4 separate regions of the Homo sapiens genome follow, and all the other regions are linked to region 4. The links are contacts of gene promoters, found by promoter capture Hi-C in human tissues and cell types (Jung and others, 2019). All regions are on one chromosome and are shown on one strand. Each heading gives the region's core, a stretch centred on a gene start or on the middle of the fragment in contact. The rest is flanking DNA. Distances are from core to core; before and after follow the strand shown. Region 1 has its middle 3.1 kb from the start of DLEU7-AS1. Region 2 overlaps C13orf42 (chromosome 13 open reading frame 42). Region 3 has its middle 86 kb from the start of RNASEH2B-AS1. Region 4 holds the start of KPNA3 (karyopherin subunit alpha 3).

Region 1 (5,797 bases), core at 1,302-3,801, 1.0 Mb before region 4:
TTCCCTCTTTCTTCCCCTTACAATAGCCTTTCAAAGTTCTTGAAATGTCCATTAAGGAATTCCTATACTTTACTTTTGATTTCACAATTTCTCAGTCAAAAGCTCAATATCATTGCATAGGATAATACATTACCTTAAAAAAAAAAACACCAAAAAAACCTCAACACTCAAAGATTAAATTTGTGTTTGGAAAAGGCTTTATAGGCAGTGGTACCTGGAAACTGGTGCTTGAGAGAAGCAGGAGGAGGGAGGGGAGATGTCAAATACCATCTTTTAAAAAATTTGTTTGTTTTTGATGACCATCTTTAAGAGATTTTTAAATGCCATGTATGAATTCAAGAAAGAGAATAAAGCAGGATTCTAAGAAATAATAGAAAGCTTCTTAAGGAAGCCGGTATAGTATCATTTTATATCTCTGATATTTCTGCTCATCTACTAAAGCTCATTAAAACCTATTAATGATTAGGAAATACTTATGTTTTATGAAATGTATAAAAAAATTTAAAGATAACAATCTAAACTCTCTTTAAAAATTAATTTTTATATATATCTTAACACCATTTAACACACTTAATTTTAGTACTTCTTTACTAAAGTTTGCGGAGGCAGACTACTCTTAAAAGTAGGAAAAAAAAAGGCAGAGGAGCAGACCGACTTTTTTTTTTTTTTTTTTTTTTGAGAGGGAGTCTAGCTCTGTCACCCAGGCTAGAGTGCAGTGAGTCTAGCTCTGTCACCCAGGCTGGAGTGCAATGGTGCGATCTCTGCTCATTGCAACCTCCACTTCCCAGGCTCAAGCAATTCTCCTGCCTCAGCCTCCCGAGTAGCTGGGATTACAGACTTCTGAAATTCTGAATAGTATAAATACAACTGGAATTACACTTTATTTTTAAATATACATTTCTAGGTAAAAACATAATTAAAGATCAAATAATTTTGGTTAAATTTTAAAATAAGCCCAATATGTAACTAAATAAGTCTTAGCAGAAAAATGTGAGGATAAAGTTGAGATTGCTCCTATTTTTTAATATTTATAGCATTTATTTATTTGTAATTACTTGTGAAGTTTCAAGTATTAAATATTACTCCGAGCTGTCTAATATGAGTCAGAATTTAGGGCAATAGAAAATATAAAACAAATTTTTCCTTACTAATACATGTTTTTTAAAAAGTTGTGTTTATGTTCTTCATTGAGAACTAAATAATCACTAAAAGAATTGCAGAAGTCATAAAATCATTAAATTAAGGAGAGAAAATCTCTATATATTCAGGATAAAGACATTTAGTATGCTAAGATCTCTATCCAATGGTCAAAAAACAACCAACCAAAGATGAAAATAAAAAATAATTTCTTGGAATATTATCTGAGGACTTCCAATTTTAACATGCAGAGCTAAGTGAGTATTTTCTTATTCATATCTCAGAAAAACCAACCAAAACATCAAGGGAATCAAGAAAAACAGTAATGCAAAGCTTATCCTTTGTAAAACTAGGAAACAACAGAGATTTTTAAATGAGAGAGAGAGAAGACTTAGTGGCATAGGACATAGGAAGTACCAGAGTGAAGATGCCTGTGGATTCTGAGCTTCAAGAAAGTCATAAAAGCACAATTCTAAGTGATACATACTGAAATGTAAATGGAGGTTTTTACAATAGAGGGCAGCAAACCACTTCTTATACAACCAAATAGTAAATATTTTAGAATTTCTGGGCCATATGGTCTCTGCCATAACTATCAAATTCTGCCACTGTAGTGCTGAAGCAACCATGTACAATAAACAAATGGGCATATCTATATTCCAATAAAACTTTACTTCCCAAAAAAGAAAGCTAGCCAATGGGCTATAGTTTGCTGATATTTGTTCTCTAGCAATAAGGGTGTGTCAGCTTGACTGAGTGCTTCCCTGGGCCTCAAAGTGGTGAGGTTTCTAGAAAAAGGAAAGGCGATAAAGCTGAATGAGAAGTGGTAGGAAACTGCACAAAGAAGACAGGGCATTGCTGAAAGCATAGCTAGACATGTGGAAGACGGAATTAGAAAAAAATGAGTAAAAAGAATAAATAAAAAAGATATTTAAAAGGGTTATATGATAGATGCAAAATATATAAAAAAATCAAACATATGCATAATTGGTGTTCTTGAAGAAGAAAATCAAAATAATAAAACAATAACTGTTAGGATTATTACACAAAAATTATGAATATAAAGCATTATTAAACAAAATCCAATTACACATTAAAAAACTAACACACCATGAGCAATTATATTTATTCTAGAATGCAAGGATGGTTCAATATTAGGAAATCTATTAATATATTTCTACCACACTAATAGATTAAAAATCATGTTTCTAGATGCTGAGAGACATTTGATAAACTCCAACATCCATTCTTACTAAACAAGCAAATAAACAACAAAACAAAACTGTCAATAAATGGCAATAGATACTTCCTTAACCTAGTGCAATATACTAATCTCAATCTAAAAGCTAGTGCTATAATCTATAAGGAAACTCAGAAATATTTATATTAATGTCAGGAACAAGACAAGAATGTCTACTACCACAACTATTCATAGACGTTGATCTAGACATCCTAAGCAATGCAGTTTTACAAGAGAGAAAGAAAATGTATACAAATTAGAAAAGAAAAAGACAAATAATAATTGCTTGTAGATTATAAAAGTAAAAATTTTATTATATAAAAAGTGAGCCAACTGAAAAAAAATATTAGAACAATAGTGGAATTCAGTTAGGTCTTTGGTTATAAAGTAAATATATACAATCATCATCCTTCCTATATTAAAATAAAAAAGGCATAATAGAAGAAAATACTTCATTTTTGATAGCAATATCACTAGAAAATATTTAGAATAAATTTGTCAGATGTGAAAACCTATGTAAAATCTTTAACTGGCTGGACGTGGTGGCTCCTACCTGCAATCCCAGCACTTTGAGAGGCCTAGGCTGGCGGATCACCTGAGGTCAGGAGTTCGAGACCAGCCTGACCAACATGGTGAAATCCCATCTCTAATAAAAATTTTTAAAAAATAGCTGGGTGTGGTGGTGCATGCCTGTGGTTGCAGCTACTCAGGAGGCTGAGGCAGGAGAATCACTTGAACCCAGGAGGCAGAGATTGCAGTGAGCTGAGATCATGCCACTGCACTCCACACTCCAGCCTGGGTGACAGAGTGAGACTCTGTCTCAAAAACAAAAACAACAACAACAGAAAAAAAAAAAACCCCATAAAACGAACAACATTACACTGTCTCTTGTGGACACAAAAGAACACTTGAACAGATATAAAAGTATATTATATTCTTGGTGAGGGAAACTCAGTATCAGACAGTTTTCAATTCTCTCTAAAAAAATATAAACATTTAATACAGGTCCTATAAGAATATCAATAAAATTTGGGAGTCTATATATGATTCTAAAGTTCATATAAAGGAAAAAAACAAGCAGGAATAACCAGGAAAATTCAGGGGAAAAAATAGAAAATACATGGTACTAGCCCTACCTGACATTAAAATATTTAGGACGTGATGACATTTCAATTAGTGGGAAAAGGGTGAAATTAATAAATGTTGTTCATTCTAGCCCTCTAAAAAATTAATATTGGATTCTAACCTCAGACCTTACATCAAAATGATTTCCTGATGAATCAAAGATTTCCACGTTAATAAAAATATAAAAATACTAGGACCCACCATGGAAAAGTTTTAAAAGTATTGTAGTAAGGAAGATCTCTTTAAGTCCATTACAAATCTCAGAAGTCATAACAAAAAACTGATGAATCTGACAATATAAAAATAAACTGGGCAAAAAATTTGCAGCTCACATAGTAGACTAGCACTGTCAATGGAAATACAATGTAAGCTACACGTGTAATTCTAAATTTTCTAGTAGTTAGTGTAAAAAGTAAAAAGAAGTCTGTTTTTTAAAGAAATGCATCACCTTTTTTCTTTAATTAAAGAAATTAATTTTAGTAATATGTTTTATTTAATTTGTCATATCAAAAATAATTTTATTTCAATAAGTAATCAATACAAAATATTATAAATAAGATATTTCTATTCCTTTTTGTTCCAAGAAATCTGGTGTGTATTTTATAATTACTGTGCATCACAATTGGAACTAGCCACATTTCAAGTGTTCAAGAGCCACATGGGGCTGGTGGCTACCATATTTGACACACTTTAATGGGTTAATTTTATTAATGTAGAATATTCTAATATAGAGAGAATTATATCAATAAGGAAATGTCTAACAACCTAATAAAAAAGGGCAAAGCATTATTAATTCACTAAAGTTGAGAGAATTTCAAGTTAAATTATCAGAAAATATTACTTCACATCAGATTGACAATGATCAACACATTCTATAACATGCTGAGTCCATGAGGAAGGGGAGAGTGAGTCGTTTCACACACTGATGGTTAAAGTATAAATTCGTACAATCTTAGTTGAGGGAAATTTGTCAATATCTATCAAAATGACAAATGCACATACCTTTGACCTAGCAATTCCAATTTGAGGAATGTTTCCTACAGATGTATTTGCAAATGTGTGAAATGATTTATGTACCAATGACCTGTTAGGCTATTGGTTATACATGTAAAAATCTGAAACTGCCTAAACGTTATCAATAGGGAACAGGTTAAATAAATTATGAAACATTACACAATGAAGTGCCGTGTGATAAAAACTAATAAGAAAATATATTATGTAATAATGTAGAAGCCTATTTAAGCTCTATTGTTATGTGGATAAAAAGACAAGGCACAGATAAGTATAAATAGCGTGGTCCCAACTGTGTAAAAAAGTACATGTACATGTATGATATACACATGTACAGACATATAAAACATATCTGGAAATATCCATATATAATTAGTAATTCAGGTCGCCTCCTGTGAGGAGAACTGGTTGTCTCAGTGACAGAGATAAGAGGGAGAGTTACTCTTTAGTGTATATCCTTTTGTGCCATCCAAGTTTAGTACCCCAAATATGTATGACCTATTCAAAATTAAATAAAATATTTAAATTAGTTTTTGAGGGCATTGAAACAAGAACAACCATGGAGAAAATTTTATTCAATTTTTGATATATATTGCATTTTCTTCATTTCTGCTTAATATTTCTCAACATAGCTGTTGACATAGGTACTGTCGCTTTCTAAATGAAGACACCAATATGAAGAACATGGGCTTGCTATCTAAGAATTTCATTTTTGGCTCCAGCTTTCTTGAGAGTCAGGAGCACTAATTAAATGGTTTTGCTTAGTTCTTTCTTTCTGACCTACTCTGTTTAGTGGAACCAAATGGGAGGTATTTCCAAATCATAATCTCTTTCACCAATTGCTCTCTTAACTTGATTGTACCTTCCTGGGTGGAGAAGCATCAGTTGGGTTTCTATTGAAATCAACAAGTGCCCAGTTCCTCAGAGGCCAGCCACTCTGGATTAAACTGCATCAGGCCTGTTCCCAGAAAACTAAACTAATGGGCTTGTGCCTTTTTTTTTTTTTTTTTTTTTTTTTTTAGTGTATAGAGGCTCCCTTGTTCATTTTGCCTTGTCTCTCTCCTGAAATCCTGGCTGGTTCCAAGTCCTGACTACCCCCATGAGGAGAATCACAGCCCACCTTTAGTGGCACTGATCCAAGCGGGCCTTCCTTGCCCACCTCCAGACAACTAAGGCATTGGCAACACAGCATCTGGCACAGATTCTCTGCAGGCAAGATTATTATACCAATTGAAAATGGGGTTACAATGGCCAATTGGAGTTTGAGGCATTTAAAAGGTAATA
Region 2 (5,928 bases), core at 2,417-4,916, 1.3 Mb before region 4:
TGTATTTGAGAATCCAGCTTCTGACCATACGTAGGCTAGGTAGTAGGGTGGTGCATAGGGCAGGAGAGGCCCACGGTGGCTGCCCAGACCCAGCCTGGACTGCTGGAGCTGGAGTGGGGTGAGGCCTGAGTTCATGCTTCCCTCCTCACCAAGGCGTGTCCTTGGGCACCCCTCCTGATGGAGAGCAAAGAATCCAAACACATTCATCAGTTGAGCACCCTTTACATTCCATCATGCGACTGTCAGACAGTTTGTTTAATCTTTGACTTGCCCACCATGGTGTAAATTAATGATAGTTTTATTCAGGGGGCTCACTGGCCCCTTATACTAAGGTTAGAGCTTTTGGTACCAATATTAAATAATTCATGAGTGTTTTCTCTAATGCTTGAAAGAAGCTTGTGATTTGTTGTTGTTGTTCTGGCCTTGATAGATGTGTATCTGTGGGATTTGGGGTTTCAAATTGGGTTCTTTGCAGTTTCACAGAAGGTTAACTCTGCTCCCCAAGCTTATTCTTATCCTCCTCCTCTCCCACGCAGCCCCTCCAGTCCCTGACAGACAGCAGCCCTGCCCCTGGGAGTGAGGGGGCCTAGGAAATTCAGGATATTGGTGAAAGGATGACAAAATCCACTAAGGATGCAAGGGTCATTTTCAGAGTTATAATTTTTAATAAAAATGAATGTGACCAAGTCATTTTTATTAAGTTCATGAAATGACCACTTTTCTCCTCTGATAACAAAAAACATACCAAAGCATAAAGAAGAAAGTAAAAAATATGACCTGCAAAACTGCCACCCAGAGATAATCATCACCGGTAACATTTGGGGATATGTCTTTTTGAGTGTGGTTTTAACACACACACACACACTCTCTCTCTCACACACACACTCTCTTACACACACACACTCTCACATACACACACACAAACTCACAAACTCATTTTAATTTTTTTGCCATAAAACTAGGATGTCCTTTCATTTAACAATTTACAATACATCTTGGGCTACTTTCCAAGCCCATAAATATAGATCTGTGTCTTCTTGTTTTTTTTTTTGTTTTTTTTTGTTTTTTTTTTTGAGACGGAGTCTCGCTCCATCGCCCAGGCTGTGTGCAGTGGCACGATCTCAGCTCACTGCAAGCTCTGCCTGCCAGGTTCACGCCATTCTCCTGCCTCAGCCTCCCGAGTAGCTGGGACTACGGGCGCTCACCACCACGCCCGGCTAATTTTTTGTATTTTTCAGTAGAGACGGGGTTTCACCGTGTTAGCCAGGATGGTCTCAATCTCCTTACCTAGTGATCCACATGCCTCAGCCTCCCAAAGTGTTGGGATTACAGGTGTGAGCCACCACGCCTGGCCTTTTTTTTGAGACGGAGTCTCGCTCTGTCATCCAGGCTGGAGTGCAGTGGTACAGTCTCGGCTCATTGCTACCTCTGCCTTCCCAGTAGCTGTGATTATAGGCACCTGCCACTACGCCCGGCTAATTTTTGTATTTTTAATAGAGATGGGGTTTCACCATGTTGGCCAGGCTGGTCTCAACTCCTGGCCTCAGGTGACTGGCCTGCCTCGAACTCCCAAAGTGCTGGGATTACAGGCGTGAGCCCCCGCACCTGGCCTATGTCCCCATTTTTAATGGACATATATTCCATTGCATTCCTCCTGCACCACAACTGCAGAGTCAAATCTGCTTTGCTTGGCTATTAGGAACATGGTTGCCTACACCCATTTCCTGTGAGTGTTCAGTCCAATCCGCCCTCTCCTTTGCCTTATGCGCCTCCCAATGGCAAGCCCTTCCTTCCTGGGTCACATGCTTTTCTCTTCTAGTGGCCACCAGCTCCAGGGAGCACAGCTTGCATTCTAACTGGATCCTGCGGGCACCGCGCAGACACTCCGAGGATATCGCTGCCCACACTGTGCATACTGTAGACGGCCAGTTTCGAAGGAGCACCGAGCACAGGACCGTGGGCACTCAGAGGAGACTCGAGAGGCACCCCATTTATTTGCCCAAGGCTGTGGAAGGGGCCTTCAACACCTGGAAATTTAAGCCCAAAGCCTGCAAAAAAGAGTAAGTGCTTGGGCTAAATAGCATGACCAAGATGTTCTCGTGGCCTCCAGACGCTTGGGGTGATCCTTAAGGTGCCTCCAGCCCCATCTTACATGCCAAATATTATTCATATATATATATATATATATATATATTTGTTGTTGCTGGTGGTGGTGAGGTCTTAGTTTCAACATTTTTTTTTGGTAGTCTGCACTCTAGCCTGGTGCACTGCTCCTAACTTGCTTCTTCCTGGGTCTGCCTCCCTTTCTTTCTGGCCCACTTAGCCCATGCACTGTGCCATCCACCTTCATGGATTTCCCCCCAGTGCCATTGACGCATGGCATGCTACAGACTTTTAATGAGTTTGAGGTTCAACAGAGCATAGCACCAAGAGGAAACCAACATCAAATGAATCAGATGCCCCTCTCTAAAATGCACCGGGCAGGCTCCAAGATGTAGAACGTCTTGCTGGCCAGGCCCCTCTTGGGCCATCTTACCACCATCTCCTCTGGCCTGTCTCCTTTTAGATCCTCCTCCCCCAGGCCTAGTTACCATCACTAACCGTCAAATTCCTGTTATCCACTCGCTCAGAGCAGTAAGCTCTTTCTGGGTTTGGGCAACCCAGGCCATGCTGCAGGGCCTTGCCTGTCACAACGGAAGGGCCTGTCAAGCCTCATCAGCTGTCTTCCTTTGCTTCTACAAAAGCCACTAAACCCTGTTGGATTTAGGGGCTTTCTAGATAGCATTTCCCTTCCACAGTAACAGACCATGCACTGGACATATTAAAATCACAACCCAGCCCTCACCACCCGTCCTTCCCCTTCAAGGCCAGGCCAAGGTCCAGCTGAGGTCCACCCATGGCCCCCATGGCGACACCATTTGGTCCTCCCCAAGACCCAGGACTAGGGCAGCAATCTGAGGGTCTCCATGAGAATGGTGGTCATTGAGCATCCCTTCCCTCTGTGTGGCCGGCCAAGCCGAACTTAAACCTCCTGCCTCATTCCTTCCTTCTAGCCTGGGGAGCTCCAGACAGATCCTTTTCAACTTCTCAGGAGAAGATATGGAGTGGGATGCAGAGCTCTTTGCGTTGGAGCCCCAGTTGTCTCCTGGGGAGGACTACTATGAGACAGAGAACCCCAAAGGACAGTGGCTGCTTCGAGAAAGACTTTGGGAGCGGACGGTGCCCTGACTCCATCTGGATTCCTTGACGTGTCTCAGACTGGGTCCCTGAGAAGCTGTCCGCTTTCAGCGCAGCATGAGGTATTTGGTAGAGTTGAAAATGCCAATTGTAACACAGTCAACCCACTCAGCACACTGCCTGCTGGTGCCGTGCCAGTGCCAAACAGACCTGTGGCTTCCCAGGGGACAGGTCTCAGGACACTCTCAGAGCTTGAGTTTCTCTGCGTGGGCTGATGACCAGGGACTTACAGCCTGGCTGGTCTTCAAGAGCTGAAGGAATGGAAGGTCTTGAGTGGAGTGTCTGGGCTCACTCCCCTGACCTCACCTGGCCTGGTCCTCATTCTCCACGTGTCTGTCCAGGTGGCTGCTAGCAATGTGCTCAGTACCAGAAATGAACTCACCTGTAGATTTCTGGGCCAAAGCTTCAAAGAGGTAGCTCCTCTTTCTATGAGGCTCAGAGACATGCTGGATCTGCACTGAGGTTGCCGTCTTGTGTGCAGAATGCAGTTGAGAAAGCAGCTCCTTTTGCTCTCTTTTCAGAGTTTTCCAGAAACTCCTGCTGCATTAAGCTAAGATGAGGCTAATGCCCTGGCAATGGGGTGAGGGAAGGGGTATGTCACGAGCCTGCCTGGGGGCCACACTGTTTCCTCAGGCCCCAAAACTCAGCTCCCCTTCACATAGGCAATTGACAAGAGAAGAAGGGAGATGGGGTGATTCTTTTCTTTTTCTTCTAATTCTTACCCAGAAAAATCTTTTTAAATATCCATGGAACCAGTTTATGACAGGCCACACCTTTCCCTTTCCCCAGTTAAGAGAACAATCAGAATCATTACGTTCTTTTGGTATAGAAAGGATTTCTGTATTTTAGGAACTATCTGAATCAGAATTACATTTAAAATATATTCTTTGTATTTCTAAATACTTTTTACATTTTTGCAATAGTTGTACCCATTCAAGCTTGAGAACCACTGGTTTGGAGAATATACTGAAATTTATCTATTCTCACTTCTTTTTTTGGCATTTTCTTGTAAACCAGTCTGTGCATGTATAAGGGTCTTTGGGCAGAAGGAAGGGAGAGAGACAAAAAACAGAAAACAAAACAAAACAAAGAAAACCACAATCATTTGAATTAAGCCAAGGATGTTCTAGGCTAAGGTCAGGCTAAGAACTGAACAGAGGCTTCCTTTCTGCCATGCCTGTGGGATGATATTCTTATTGTTCCATTTTTTAGGAAGAACCTTTTGTTTATGTGAACCTGATCATATGAATCTAAGAATATGTAACTCTTACAAATAAAAAACAGCTAGTAATTATATTGCATTCTTAGAAATTTTATCTCAACATGTTTTCAGAATGAAACCATACTAGAAATGTTTTAATACCTCTCTTTATTATTTTTCGAGTGCCAATGTCAATGTTTGGAAAGTTTCTTTCATTTTGTTGCTTGTACTAACCCAGCTATAGCCAGAAGCTTGACTGGAAAGTAAATGTTTAGGAGATTTGTTTTATAAACTGCATTAAAGCACTGCCATTTATCACCACAGATCTTTTATTTTCCCTAAATGTGGCCTTGTTTGAAGCCTCATCTATAAAAGTTCATTGTTGGGGATAAACTCAGGATAAAGGTGTCTTTACTCTGCCTCTTATCAAACTACAGTTTATCATAGATCCACCCTGAAATTATGTGGTGAAGATACTGTGTACATTTTGTTTTTAAAGATAAGAAAAAATAAACATGACTGCGAGGATGTTTGGAGTCCTGATTTTTTAAAAAGCATTTATTGCTTATGGCACATGAAGCTGTGCCGTCTTATTTTGCTTTGTTTTGTATGTTTTTTGTCTTTCATGAGACTATACACAGCCTGAAAAATTCCATGATTGGGAAACAGAAGGTTGTCTTGTCTTTGGGGATCATTTTTAGGTGTTTGAAGTTGGTGATAAACCCAAGGATCTGTGCTCTGCCTGGGGAATCTTGAGATGGTGTCTGGTGGGGTTTGAGATAAATGAAATCTGAAACAATAAAAGTCAATTCAGAAAACCCAGTTGAGTTGACAGATTCTTTTCTTCCTTGGATTGGCCAGTTATTCAATGGAATCAAGCTGATCACTGAGGCTATGTTAGATCTCTGGCTTTCCCAGGATTCTCAGTTTTGATACATGAAAATCTACCTATCCCTAGACAGAATGTCAAAAAGAGAGGATGTGCATCCGTGGCATCTGGCTTGTTTTTTAGCACCTGGTTTCTAGCTCCCGCTACAGACTGTCTTCTGCTTCATGGGGCAAGATGCATGGAGCTGCTAGTTTGATTTGAATCGTGTGTACCCAGCCATGTGCCATGCAACTGAGAGCATTGCTGCCAAGACCGACCTTCCTGGTGCCCATTCTCAGACACAGAGCCCAAAGTGTCTCTAACAGGACACTGTGTTCCTCTCACCACTGTTCGCCTTTGCAGAGAGAATGAGTTTCCTGTTGCTGCTGTAATAAATTACCACAGACTTAAAGGCTTAAAACAATATATATTTATGCTTTTACAGTCTGGAAGTCAGAAGAACCAAAATCAGTTTCACCAGGTTAGGTCAAGATGTTGGCAGGGCTGTGTTCCTTCTGGAAGCTTTAGAGGAGAATCCATTTCCTTGCTTTTTTCAGCTTTCAGGGGCTTCCTGCATTCCTTGGCTGGTGACCCCATCCTTGCATCACTCCAACCTATTGAT
Region 3 (5,987 bases), core at 2,378-4,877, 1.2 Mb before region 4:
TCACAGCTATTTTTAACCTTGGGTTTTCTAGAAGTTGAGCCGTTAACCTAGCTCCTACAGAAGGAGGATCCTGGGAGGTATAAATGAACTCTTCACACACAAGGAGGTGACTAATGGAGGAACATAGGATTTTCAGTGTCAGGGCTAGCCTTGAAGTTTTGTGTTGACACCCTTGATAGCATCGACCAGATGTCAAATCAGAGCTGGTCAGCACAGGCGGCATGGGTGGGAGGGCAGCCAGACCATCTGTGGAACAACCTGTTCATAGTATAGACGGCTGAGCCTCACCTGAGAGGGATTTGGCAAGTCTGCAGTAGGGCTGTGACTGGTTCGTTAACCAACTTTATAGGGGATTCTGATGAGCCAACTGGCTTGGGGATCACCATCGTGATGGAAAGGGCAATAGACTGAAATCAGAATTCCAGGTCCTGGCAGTCAGCGACCTGTGTGTTACTTCGGGCAAGTCCTCTTCAAGACATTTTTCTCATCCTGAAGGCAGGGGTAATGGCGGGCCTTCTTCACAGGGTTGCTTTGAGAAATAGATGAGATAGTATGTAGCACCTGAAAACAGCAGAGTGTCAGGTGTGCGGACTGCTGAGTCACTTGGGCATTCATTCGCTTAACAAATATATGGGTCTTAACACAAAACTGTAAGAGGTACTGCAGAGGTTTGTTTTTTTTTTTTTAAATACGATCTGTTGTGTGCGAAGAGCTTCAGACAAATGGGACAGAGGAATCCACATGGGAAGTCAGGCTCCCAGCCTTGTGCAGGGCGCTCCAGCATGACAGTGTGCACAAGTGATGCTGAAACACACACTGGGATTTGGAAAACCTCTTAGACAAGGTGCATGCAACAGCAGAAACAAGAATAGGCAAGGATCTGCTCTGGTCTCTGGAAAATGTGGGGACTTCTGGAAGCTGGGAATTTATTTCCTGCACGGCATGGCCTCTTTTGTTCATGGATGGAAAGAGGCAACCAGGCAGTGTGATCCTAGAACAGCCACCCCTTCCCTCATCCTGGAAATGCCACTGCACTCTTTGTATCGCTAGGGTAGAAGTATACACTCACTGGTAGAATTTCCCCTAAAATTTCATTTTTGGAATTTGTGTCTCTTTTGTCTGTTCACACATCCCCTGCTCTTCCTCTAGGATGAGGGTGAACGCTGGGAAAACTGAGATGGAAGCAAGTGGGAGCGGTACAGGGCTCTGCACAAGTGGAGACCACACAGAGCAAAGGCCAGTCCAGGGTGGGGAGAGAGGTGGGACGGTGGCACAAGCCCTGTGCTGTCAAGGACCAGGATGGGGTGAAGCGGTGAATGGGGTGAAGCGGTGAATGGGGTGAAGCCGTGGTGGTGCAGGGCCCTGGAGAAGACTGAGTGCCTGATTTCAGGCTCAGGCCAAACCCTCCACCCCAGTCGTGGAGAATCAGTGTTGAAACCAAGATGTGGTCTTCCATATCTTATTCTGTTTAGAAGGTTAGAAACAGATGCAGAAATGCTATGAAGTGATTATCTTAATGGCAATTGTAAGAATCCTTCTTGTAACCCCATATCATATCGTGTATGATTCATAGAGCCTGCCTGTGATAACAGGTGATGATCCACATCCCACCTCTATTCCCCAAGGCAACAGCATTTCCTCACATTCCATGCTGCTATCGCTGCAGCCACTACCACCCCCAACTCCCCAGCCTCCAAGTTTGTGTTTGACAATCTCACATGATAGGTGTTTTCCAAATGGGAAGATTTCTTCTGCAACCATTCTTTTCATTTAATCTGTTCTTGATCTACATTGAGATAGATTTCTGTGCTGATTTTAATACTGAGCTATGTGATTTTTCCAATTAAAGACTATTTGTTTATTTGTATTATAGAAGAAATATTTAATTTTTAATAAGTATGGATAAACCAAAAGAAGAAAACCAAAGCACCTATAATTACATCATTCAGAGAGACTACTATTAAAATATGGGTCATATCTTCCCTGACTTTTATATGGGAGGCTGTGTATATGTGTATACAGACATGCTTTTTCTTACAAAAATGGAATTGTCATGTATATACTGTTTTGTAATCTGGCAGGGCATGAATTTCTTTCCTTTGAACATTTAAACACTTAATAATACTGAGGAGGATAATTTTAAAAAGATATAATGTGCTTCACATGGTACCCTTATTTCCCATGTGACTTGTGCTATTACATACCCCCAAACCACTTTTACATTGTACCAAATGAAAATCCCAATTATCTTATACTACCCACATCTACAACACACTTTGGTACCCTTGATGTTCCATGAGTCCTGAAGTTTCCTCTAAATTTTCCAAGAAAGACTAAACTTGTTCAAGTTAGCTTTGGTGCTTAGAGTATCCCAGGTGTCTAGATGTCAGCAACACATGGAAGATGTACCTTGTAATTTCTATTAATTGGAAAATGTAATTAACCAGAAGGCTACATTTCCCAACTGTGCACAACAATGAGCATTAACTGTAACAAAATGATGGTACTCATAGGCAGTCCTTGGGGGTTGTGAACAATGGTTTTGTGGGAGCGAAAGATGATGGACGAGAATCCATCTCAAGTAAACAAAATTCTTCCAGCATCTGGATTGTGGAACTGAATTGGAGTAGAATGTCAAACATATATGTGTGAAAATTCCAAGACAGCCTTGCAGTTCTGCGCTGACCAAGTCTTGTTTGAATTGTCAGAGGCATCAACCCAAATTGATGGAGTCAGGTTTGGCTTGTCCAACTTTCACTGTGCTGTTTCAGTTCATTTTCTCAGCACAGTCCTAGCTGATTGTCCTTTCTGTCTGTTCTCTGTTCACTCTTTAGGGAGAGAAAAGGGAAAGAAGAAAATGAATTTAAAGGAAATAGGAGTAGAAGTGGAGGAGATGGAAGATCCAGTTAAGATACAAGTGAGAGAAATGAAAAATGGTCAGGCTAGAAGAGAGAAAAATGTGCTATGAGGCAGGAGAGATGAATCAACGCTGAAAAGCTACATTTCTGAGAAGAGAAATTGCAAGGGGAAAAAATTAGAGTGTTGAATAAAGAGGAGACGAAGATATCTGTAAAATATTGTTTCCTAGTGTTGAGCTTACTCCAAAATACCTTATGAGAGGTTAGGCCAGAAAATAGATTATTCCTTTTGGTTACAAAGAAATCATGGTGCTCTCAGGAAGCAAGAGCAGATCATGAACACAGCCTGACAGCTGCTGGGTACAGGGAATGGTTTCCTTTACCGTATTTCTGCTCATTTTAGCAATTCCAGCCCTTTCCAGCTCAGTTTTCATTTTCACTAGAGTGACCTCCACTTTTCATACAATTACAAACATACAAAACAAATAAGTTCTGGGATCACAACACTTTTGTGGATATTTTTTTCTCTCAAAGATTCTTATAACATTTCTTTGAGTTGAGGGGGAGACAGATGTGTTGTGTGGTGTTGTTTTACATCTGGAGAAACTGGGGCACAGAGGAGTATTGGGGGAGAGTTCAGCTGCTCTTTGTAGTGCTGTTGGGTGGTGATGGATGTGGAGGCAGATGACCAGGTCTTCTCAACAGAAAAAAATTACACTTCCATCTGTAATCAACTCATTTTTTCTCTATTTGCTATGATGACAAAACAAAACGGAACCCAAATTTCACAAATACACTATTTTTATCATTTAACCTGCATGTTTCCATTTTTGAAAAATTTAGTTCTAATTATAATAGTTTTTACATCTCAAAAAATACAATACTGCAATAAACTCCATAATTCAAAATGAAAGAGAGTATTGGGAATAATAAAATTAGTAGAGAATCAGCAAAAAGCAAAAACAAAACATCCTGTATCTGAATAAGTAACAGTTTCCAAAGAGCATAAAATACTGCTGAATATAATTCAGTCGTGTGTGTGTGCGTGTGTGTGTGTGTGTGTATGTGTGTGTCAGAGAGAGAGAATATGTAATAGCAATCAAATGAACATATAGCTAATGATATCTGTACTTAGCTAACTCTGGTTGCGCCATACCCTATAAAATGTCACAGTTGAGAGTTTCATGAACCTTGATTCCTTTTCAGATTGGCCCCAATATATGCATGAGCTAAACGCTTCCTGTAAATCATTGCTGGAAGTTGCCTCAGTGACATGGCCCTACATGTCCCAGGAATCCCCCTTTCTCTGCTCCAGGGCCCTCTCTCCAATTTTCACCTCATTCTGGGCCTGAGACTGAGATGAGACTGGGGAGAGGTCTGGTAGCCCCAAATTTTCCACATGTATGTCATCACTGACATTCCTCAATGAGCAGTGCATTAGCGAATGGAGCCTGTTTCTGTCTCATTGTTTGTGCTCTTAGGATCTTAAAACAAAACCGATCACTAATCCAGGTTCAGGATGAAGTCTGAGTGCTAACAGCCTCTAATAGTGAAAAAAAAAAGTCATCCATTATTTTGGGAAGAGAAGGCCGAAGACAGGAGCCCCTCTTGATTTCCCGCTTTCTATAATACTAGATGTACGTGAGCCTCAGACCTAATACATGCGCCTTTCTGAACTTGAATATCTCTGGGACAATGATTTATATTTTTAAAAAAGGAAATGGCAATGATATATGACTTTAAAATCTCAGACGCTGCCCTTCCAAATGAAACTGCAGGGAACGCGGGAGGAGATAGATTCAGTGTCCTCCACCCGGCCTCTATCCCATTCCTTCTCTGATCCCACTCTCTCTCTTGCCTTGGCTCACAGTCCCGGAGGCGGTTTTTCTCCAGGGCCTTCTCCCAGGGCTCCCTCCCATGCTTAGAAATACTAATTGGCATCTTTGAGTTTGTGCTCTATGGGGCATTGCGTGACTCACTTGGTATAAATCATCTAGTTTAATGATCATAACAACCCTGGAAGGCAGGTGTTATTTCTCCATTTTTCATATGAGGAAAACTGAGGCCCAGAGAGCTTCAGTAACTCATCCAGGGTTACAGGTCAAGTAGTGGCAATGCTGGCTCTGACCTTCAGCCTCCGTGTCTGCTGCTCAGAAGTCACAGACAGCCACAGGCCAGAAGACAAGGAGACTTGGTGCTATTGTGTGAGTTATGCAGAAGCAAAGATGTGGGTATGACCAAAAAGATGGCACAGGGCAGTTCAAAGAACTCATATAGCCACAAGGCAGTGGTCTGTCCGGGCTGTTTGGCCTTGGCTGTGAAGAATTCTTCCTGTCCAGGATCACACTGAGTAGAAAAGGAGGCCCGTAGTGTCCACACGTGTTCCCCAGGGTCTGGCCCAGACAGACAGTCTGAGGCTCGATCACTTGCTCACCCCTCTGTGTTCTTTCAGCTCCTGATGAAATCATCCCTGTGGGGAGTGCAGGGCCAGATGGGGACTCCATGGAGACAGCCGACCGGCGACAGCCTTCAGCTCCGACAAAGACACATCACCTTGCAAATGACACTTTGCCGTCTGGTTTCTGTGTTTTGTTGTAACAGGTTAAATGAACCCCTGGGCTTAATTTTCCCCCTACTTAGTTCTGTGGCAGCAAAGAAAAGTGACTTCTTTTCATTTCTCAGCTCAAAACTTCTTAAGCCGTGTCTCTTCCTCATCATCCCTTTGAGAATAAAAGTCTAGAAATGAAACACAATCCTGACAAGTTTGGAAAATGTGCTTTTATATTCTTAGTTCAAAGCCAACCCTAAACTTTGAGATTTTGGGTCAAATTTGTTCTCAGAGACGTAAGTTCGGCCTTGAGGCCTATTTCTGTCTTCTTCTAACAGGAATGAATGGCTTCAAGCTCTCATCACTATGGTTCCACTGAACCTTTGCCTGAACAAGAGCCCCAGTGGCTGACACCCTGACTCTGGAGGCTCACCTTGTTTTAAAGGGTGGTGGGAAGGAGAAAGGGAGGAGGAGGGGAAGGCGGAGGGGGAGGGGGAGGGGGGGGAGGAGGAGGAGGAAAAGGAGGAGGAAAGAGACCCAGGCTCTGCAGTTTATAAATCACCCCAGAACACAGCCAGGCT
Region 4 (6,070 bases), core at 1,528-4,027:
TTGGACTGGGTGTGAAGAAAGGTGGCATAAAGTAACCTGAAAAGGGAATACCTACTAAATTATAATAGAGACTGAGCAACAGTCTGAAAATTTCTCTTCCATTTAGCCAAGGAGAATGGCAAACACACAAGTTCTGTTTCCTTAAAACCCAGAGTTGAGCTAATGTATTCTTTCTTTTTTCTTTTTTTTGAGACAGAGTCTCATTCTGTTACCCAGGCTGGAGTGCAGTGGCGCAATCTCAACTCACTGCAACCTCCGCCTCCCAGGTTCAAGCGATTCTCCTGCCTCAGCTTCCTGAGCACCTGTGACTACAGGCATGCACCACCATGCCTGCCTAATTTTTGTATTTTTGTAGAGAAAGGGTTTCACTATGTGGGCCATGGTTGGCCAGACTGGTCTCAAACTCCTGACCTCAGGTGATCCTCCCACCTCAGCCTCCCAAAGTGCTGGGATTACAGGCATGAGCCACTGTGCCCTGCCTAATGTATTCCTTCTAAATTCATAGCTGGTGTGTGTGTGTGTGTTTCCCTTCAAATGAGTGGTTAGACTAAGATCAGGTGTTGCAAACTGAGGACCTGATATTCTGAAGTGACTGAAATGCTTAAGTCCATTAACAAAATGTGAATTAACATTTAAAAATAAAGAGAAAAAGAATCTACCTTTTTGGTTTTCCTTGAAAAGTGGAATCTTCTGGCAACACTGGGCCACAGTCCAGTATGACCAGAGGATCTGAAGCCTGTGTTTATCAATAGGCCACACCCCACCACTCACAAGACGAATGCCCCTGGACATAGCTTGGCCACCAAAGGCTTCTGAATTCCTGACTTCTGGGCCTCAGGTTCTTTAAGGCCCTTTCGCTTTTTTTTTTTTTTTTTTTTCTGTATCTCCTCATATATTTATTCTTTTTCTGTGATCAGTGTCCTTTGCATGTTTTTGTTGGGTTGTTTGAATTTTTTATTTTTATTTTTTGGGGATGGAGTCTCACTCTGTCGCCTAGGCTGGAGTGCAGTGACACGATCTCAGCTCACTGCAACCTCCGCCTCCCAGGTTCAAGCAATTCTCCTGCCTCAGGCTCCCAAGTAGCTGAGATTACAGGTATGCGCCATATGCCCGTCTAATTTTTGTATTTTTTTTAGTAGAGGTGGGGTTTCACCATGTTGGCCAGGCTGGTCTCGACCTCCTGACCTTGTGATCCACCCACCTCGACCTCCCAAAGTGCTGGGATTACAGGCATGAGCCACCGCGCCCAGCCAAGGCCCTTTCGCTTTAAAGATTGTCCTTTTTGATCTCTTCATGGTATAGTCCTACCAACTTTTGACCTCAGTTCAATTATAAGTACTACAACATTACATACCTGCTCATGTCTACCATAGATTCTGAAAATTAACATACAAGCAAATGAAGCCCACCTGCTCCAGAAAGTAGCTTTTTGTTTTTGTTGTTGTTGTTTTTGTTGTTTTGTTTGAGACAGAGTCTCCCTCTGTCGCCAGGCTGGAGTGCAGTGGCGCCATCTCGGCTCGCTGCAACCTCCGCCTACCGGGTTCAAGCGATTCTCCTGCCTCAGCCTCCAGGCATGCGCCACCACGCCCAGCTAATTTTTGTATATTTAGTAAAGAAGGGGTTTCACCATGCGGGCCATGGTTGGCCAGACTGGTCTCGGTCTCTTGACCTTGTGATCTGCCCTCCTCGGCCTCCCAAAGTGCTGGGATTACAGGCGTGAGCCACCACACCCGGCCGAAAGCAGCTCTTTATCAGTGTAATCCATCCAAATTTCCCTCTTTCATTCTTTCGATGCCCCCAGAGGGAGTGGGAGTGCTACACAGGAGAGTCTGCGGACCAGGGCTGGGCTGCTGCCTGAAGGCTAAGATTCTGTGTGGTGGTAGAACAAGAAGTGTTGGGGGGCATGTAAATACAGGGACTGCCAGAGTGAAGGTTGCAGAACCGGGCTTGGAAGGATGATGAAGAAACTGGGCGACACTAAAGCGCCAGTTCAACAAGTATTGCGTATCTACGACGTGGTAGGCATTGTTTTGACACTAGAGATTCAGCAGTAATTCAACCAAAGTACCTGCTCTCATTGAGCTGAATTTCCGCGCGGGCACCTAGGTAACGCATATAAACACTCGTATCACATACATACACATGTACATGTCAGGTAGAAATGCTATTTATAAAACTGAAGCAGAGCATGGGAAGAGCGAATGAAGGTGGCTATTTGAGAAGACCCCCAAAAAAGCGAGACTGCAAAGCACTCGCGGTTGTTCCTTTTCTGATCTTCTAGCTACAGGCAGCGAGGTGCGCTCCCAGGAAGGCCCGCCCTCTTCCTCCTGATAGGGCGCAAGGTGCCAGGGACGCTCCCCCGCTCTTCCCCGCCCAGAGGCGGCCTTGTGGGGGCGGAGCTTTGTGCCCAGCAACATGAGCGCGGCGCGCAAAGAGCCGCGCGCGGAAGGGTCCCGGCATTCTCCTCGTTCTCACTAGGCGTGGAGAATTACTCCAGGCGGATCGTGGCATGATGGGAACTGTAGTTGACGACCGCCGCCCCGCGCCTGAGGGGCAGTAAAAGTCGCCAGGTCCGGCTCCATTTCTGGCACAAAACTTGCAGCACCGAGGGGTTGTGGAGAGCCCTTGCAGGGGAAGAGGGCAGGGTCATCCCGAGAACCAACGGGCACGTATAGCCCGGCGAACGCCCAAGCCGGTCACCGCCCCCGGTCACGTGTCGCCAGCCTCCGCGGCCGCGCGCCGCTCTCAGCACCGTTCCCGCCCCACCCGGCCCGGCAGTCGGCCCGCGCCTCCCCCGGCGCTACTGCCACCTCGCGCTCGGAGGCGTCACAGAACGTGCTCTTCTCTCCCCTCCCCCCTCCCGCTCTCCCCCTCCTCCCCCTCCCGCTCCAAGATTCGCCGCCGCCGCCGCCGCAGCCGCAGGAGTAGCCGCCGCCGGAGCCGCGCGCAGCCATGGCCGAGAACCCCAGCTTGGAGAACCACCGCATCAAGAGCTTCAAGAACAAGGGCCGCGATGTGGAAGTGAGTGTGCTTCCGCGGTCTGGGCCCGCCTGGCCGCGCCGGCCCGGCGACGCGGGGAGGGGCGGGGGGCCGGCGCCGGGCTGGTTCTCGTCGGCTTGTGGTCGGCCGGAGTTGGCCGCCGCCTCCCGTCACCGCGGCCCCGGGCTGGGCGGAGCGGGCGGCGAGACGCCGGCCGGGCTGCAGTCACCCCCCGGAGCTGCCGGCGCGGCGACCGGGAAATGCCGGCGTTTTCGGCCCCGTCACGCGGGCGCGGCCTGGTGTCGGCGAGGAGGGGATGTGGAGCTGAGGCGGGGTCCGCGGGCCAGGGCCGCCCGGATGAACGGGGATGCTGCCGCCCGGGCCCTCCGACCGCACAGCCGAGGGGGCGGCCGCTGCTTGCGCCCGCCACCGGTGCAACCTTCCGTCCGGTGCAGCCCCCTCTGCGCCTCCCGCGCGGCTCACATGGAGCCTCGGCTCTGCCGGTCCGGGCTCCTACCTTCTGCGAGCCGGGCCCAGGCGGGCGGTGGCGGCCCGCAGAGGGGGGTGGGGACCAGCCGGGTAACTGACTTGTTTGAGGGTGATCGATGGGGGAGGGTAGGATGCGCCAGGACCATTTTCTTATATTCCAGTGCTCGTCTTTGGACTAGTCGTGCCGAGCTGTTGCAGCTCATACTCCTGCAACTGCTGGCATTTGGAGCGAGCTGAAGGTGGACAATAGTTTGCCATCTATTGTGTTCAGGCTTCGGAAAAGAGGTTGCTCCGACCTCCGCTCATAGGACTTGTTTTCTTAGCCTTTCTTGGAGTGGGGTGTGCATAGGGTGATAATTTCTTTGACACGTTTTACTAAAATAAATTGGATACACAGGTTCATAATTCTCTTACATACCTCTTGCTCCAAGCTAGTAGAATTTCCAAGTGGTTGCAAAACTAAACATTCATCGCGGTCACTCAGTTAGTTGCTACTCAGCATGTTGCCATTGTCTCATTAAGGTGACATTAGCAGGTACTATTTGCAAACTCGGCTTATTGAGGCAGCGCTAGAGGTCTCTCTGCAGCTACTGAAAACAGTAAGTATAATGCACAAACTTCACTGGGACCGTGACCTTTGGATTTGTTAGGGGGAAAATGGTTTTAAGGCCGCAGCCTTCTTTGCTAATACTAGGCGACATGATTTGCAGTTTTGTAATTTTTGATAAGCTAGTGTGATTAAGAGGTGTGTTTTATCCTGTCTTAAGGAAGGTTGTGGGGTAAATATACCATTCAGTGTTCTATTTTGTAGAGAAACAGACAAACTCAGGCCGTTTTTCAGAGCTACAAAATTAAATACTAGTAGGAAAGAACCTAGGGAGATATCCGTGGAATTCCCATTTAAATGAGTCAAATAAAGATCATATATTCTTTCCTGGTCATGGTTAAATACCCTTTGTAAGAAATACATCTAAGCGAAAGTAAAACTTGGGAATAGGAACAAGAAATTTTGGAACTGCCTCCTGTTATTGGTCCACTTGATGACAAGTGTTAATTTTGAACTTTTCCCATTAGGAATTTTTCTTGAAGCCTATCCTGTTCCAAATAAAAATTTATTGAAAAATACTCATTGTTTGTACAGAAAAACCAGTAACATTCTTCTCTCGGATATTGGTACAGGTTTTTGTTTCATTGTTTACCTCTATTGTGTTCTGGTAGCTCAGTGATACTTAGTAAGGACTCCTGCACATAATAGGTACACAACAAATATTTGCTGATAAGAATGTAACCCGTGACTTTTAGATGCATGAAAAAGAGCATGGTTGCTAAGCCATTCAGCCTGGTATTGGTCACAACATTACATTTCTCGGGATTCTATAGTGTAACTAAAACATGAAATAGACATTCAAATGGTAGTTCTAATGTGGCAGACACTGTTACGAGCTTCATGATACCTTATTTAATCTGTGTAACAAGTATATGAAGTGTGGCATTATCCCCACTTTACATGAGTAAAGTATTTTTTGAGACGGAGTCTTGCTCCTTTACCCAAGTTGGAGTGCTCAGGCACTCATAGCTCAGCTGCAAGCTCAAACTTCTAGGTTCAAGGAATCTTCCCACCATGGCCTCCCAAGTAGCTGGGACTACAGGCGGACACCACCACACCTGGCTAATTTTTTAATCTTTTTTAGAGACGGGGTCTCGCTTTGTTGCCCAAGCTTGTCTTGAACTCCTGGGCTCCAGTGATTCTCCCGCCTCGGCCTTCCAAAGTGTTCGAACTACAGATGCTAGTCGTCACACCCAGCTGGAACTTTAGATAAAAAACCTCAGTGTGCTTATGTAGCCTGTGCATGTCACTCAGTGGATATGGGTATTATTTATTCACTAATTGTCTATTGGGTATCTATCAATGTTAGGTCTTGGGGATAAGGAATAAGATGCAGTCTGTACTTCAGGGAGTTTACAGTCCAGTGGGGGTGATAATTACAATGCAGAACAACAATTGTTACAGTATAGTATTCCGAAAATGCATGCCAAAAAAACTACTTGGAGGTGAGCAGAAAGGGAAGATACTCTGGTTGATTTCTAATGGATGAATGGGAGTGAGCTGATTGTGAAGGATGAAAGAAAGGTGGCCAGGCAAAGGGCGGGAGAAGGCTGGTGGAAGAAAGGGGCATTCCAGACTAGAGGGAGCAGTAATTGAAGAGTCCTGAGAGAAATGTAGGAGAGAGAGAGACTAAAGGGTAAACTGGGGTCAAATCTGATGAAGGGCCTTTATTGGGGATTTAGGCATATCTAAGAGTAGATAACCATGCTTAGTCTTGTCCATTAGAAACAGTACAACTTAGCTCTGTAACTGAGTAGTTGTGGTTATCAGGCTGTTCCAAAACAGTGAGATGCACTTTGATAAGCTATGATGCCTATTTTTTCACATATAGGATAGACAAAAACTAAAACATGTTATAAATTATAGAAGCAGCTGATACACAAGATGTTAGGTGCAAGAATAAGATCCATACTTGTTAAAGAAAATAAAAGGATAGAGTTATGCCAGGGGATTTGAGTAGAGAGAGGGTTGAGGAAGAAAATTTCTTTGTCATTC

What was found. Contacts are between HindIII fragments. The study calls those that stand out against the background at their distance.
Region 1: a contact is called between a fragment that was not itself captured here and the fragment with the promoter of KPNA3 in region 4, in 1 of the 25 tissues and cell types used here (hippocampus).
Region 2: a contact is called between a fragment that was not itself captured here and the fragment with the promoter of KPNA3 in region 4, in 1 of the 25 tissues and cell types used here (thymus).
Region 3: a contact is called between a fragment that was not itself captured here and the fragment with the promoter of KPNA3 in region 4, in 1 of the 25 tissues and cell types used here (spleen).

The regions. Positions count from the first base shown.
Region 1 is chr13:50,801,857-50,807,653 of GRCh38, reverse strand. It overlaps a transcript of DLEU7 not described here. Among named protein-coding and RNA genes, the nearest start is that of DLEU7-AS1, 3.1 kb to the left of the region's middle. The HindIII fragment of the contact is 3,253 bases long and covers 925-4,177 here.
Region 2 is chr13:51,081,451-51,087,378 of GRCh38, reverse strand. It overlaps C13orf42 (chromosome 13 open reading frame 42), which reads left to right. Exons shown (of 4, transcript NM_001351589.3): 3 at 1,820-2,060; 4 at 3,054-5,260. The coding sequence ends at 3,228. Among named protein-coding and RNA genes, the nearest start is that of C13orf42, 27 kb to the left of the region's middle. The HindIII fragment of the contact is 3,186 bases long and covers 2,074-5,259 here.
Region 3 is chr13:50,994,135-51,000,121 of GRCh38, reverse strand. It overlaps the pseudogene GUCY1B2. Among named protein-coding and RNA genes, the nearest start is that of RNASEH2B-AS1, 86 kb to the right of the region's middle. The HindIII fragment of the contact is 7,435 bases long and covers 1-5,987 here.
Region 4 is chr13:49,789,389-49,795,458 of GRCh38, reverse strand. KPNA3 (karyopherin subunit alpha 3) reads left to right here and starts at 2,777. Exons shown (of 17, transcript NM_002267.4): 1 at 2,777-3,021. The coding sequence starts at 2,953. RefSeq lists enhancers at 2,482-2,611, 2,415-3,076, 3,077-3,738, 3,743-4,262 and silencers at 2,682-2,931, 3,052-3,621. The HindIII fragment of the contact is 11,550 bases long and covers 1-5,734 here.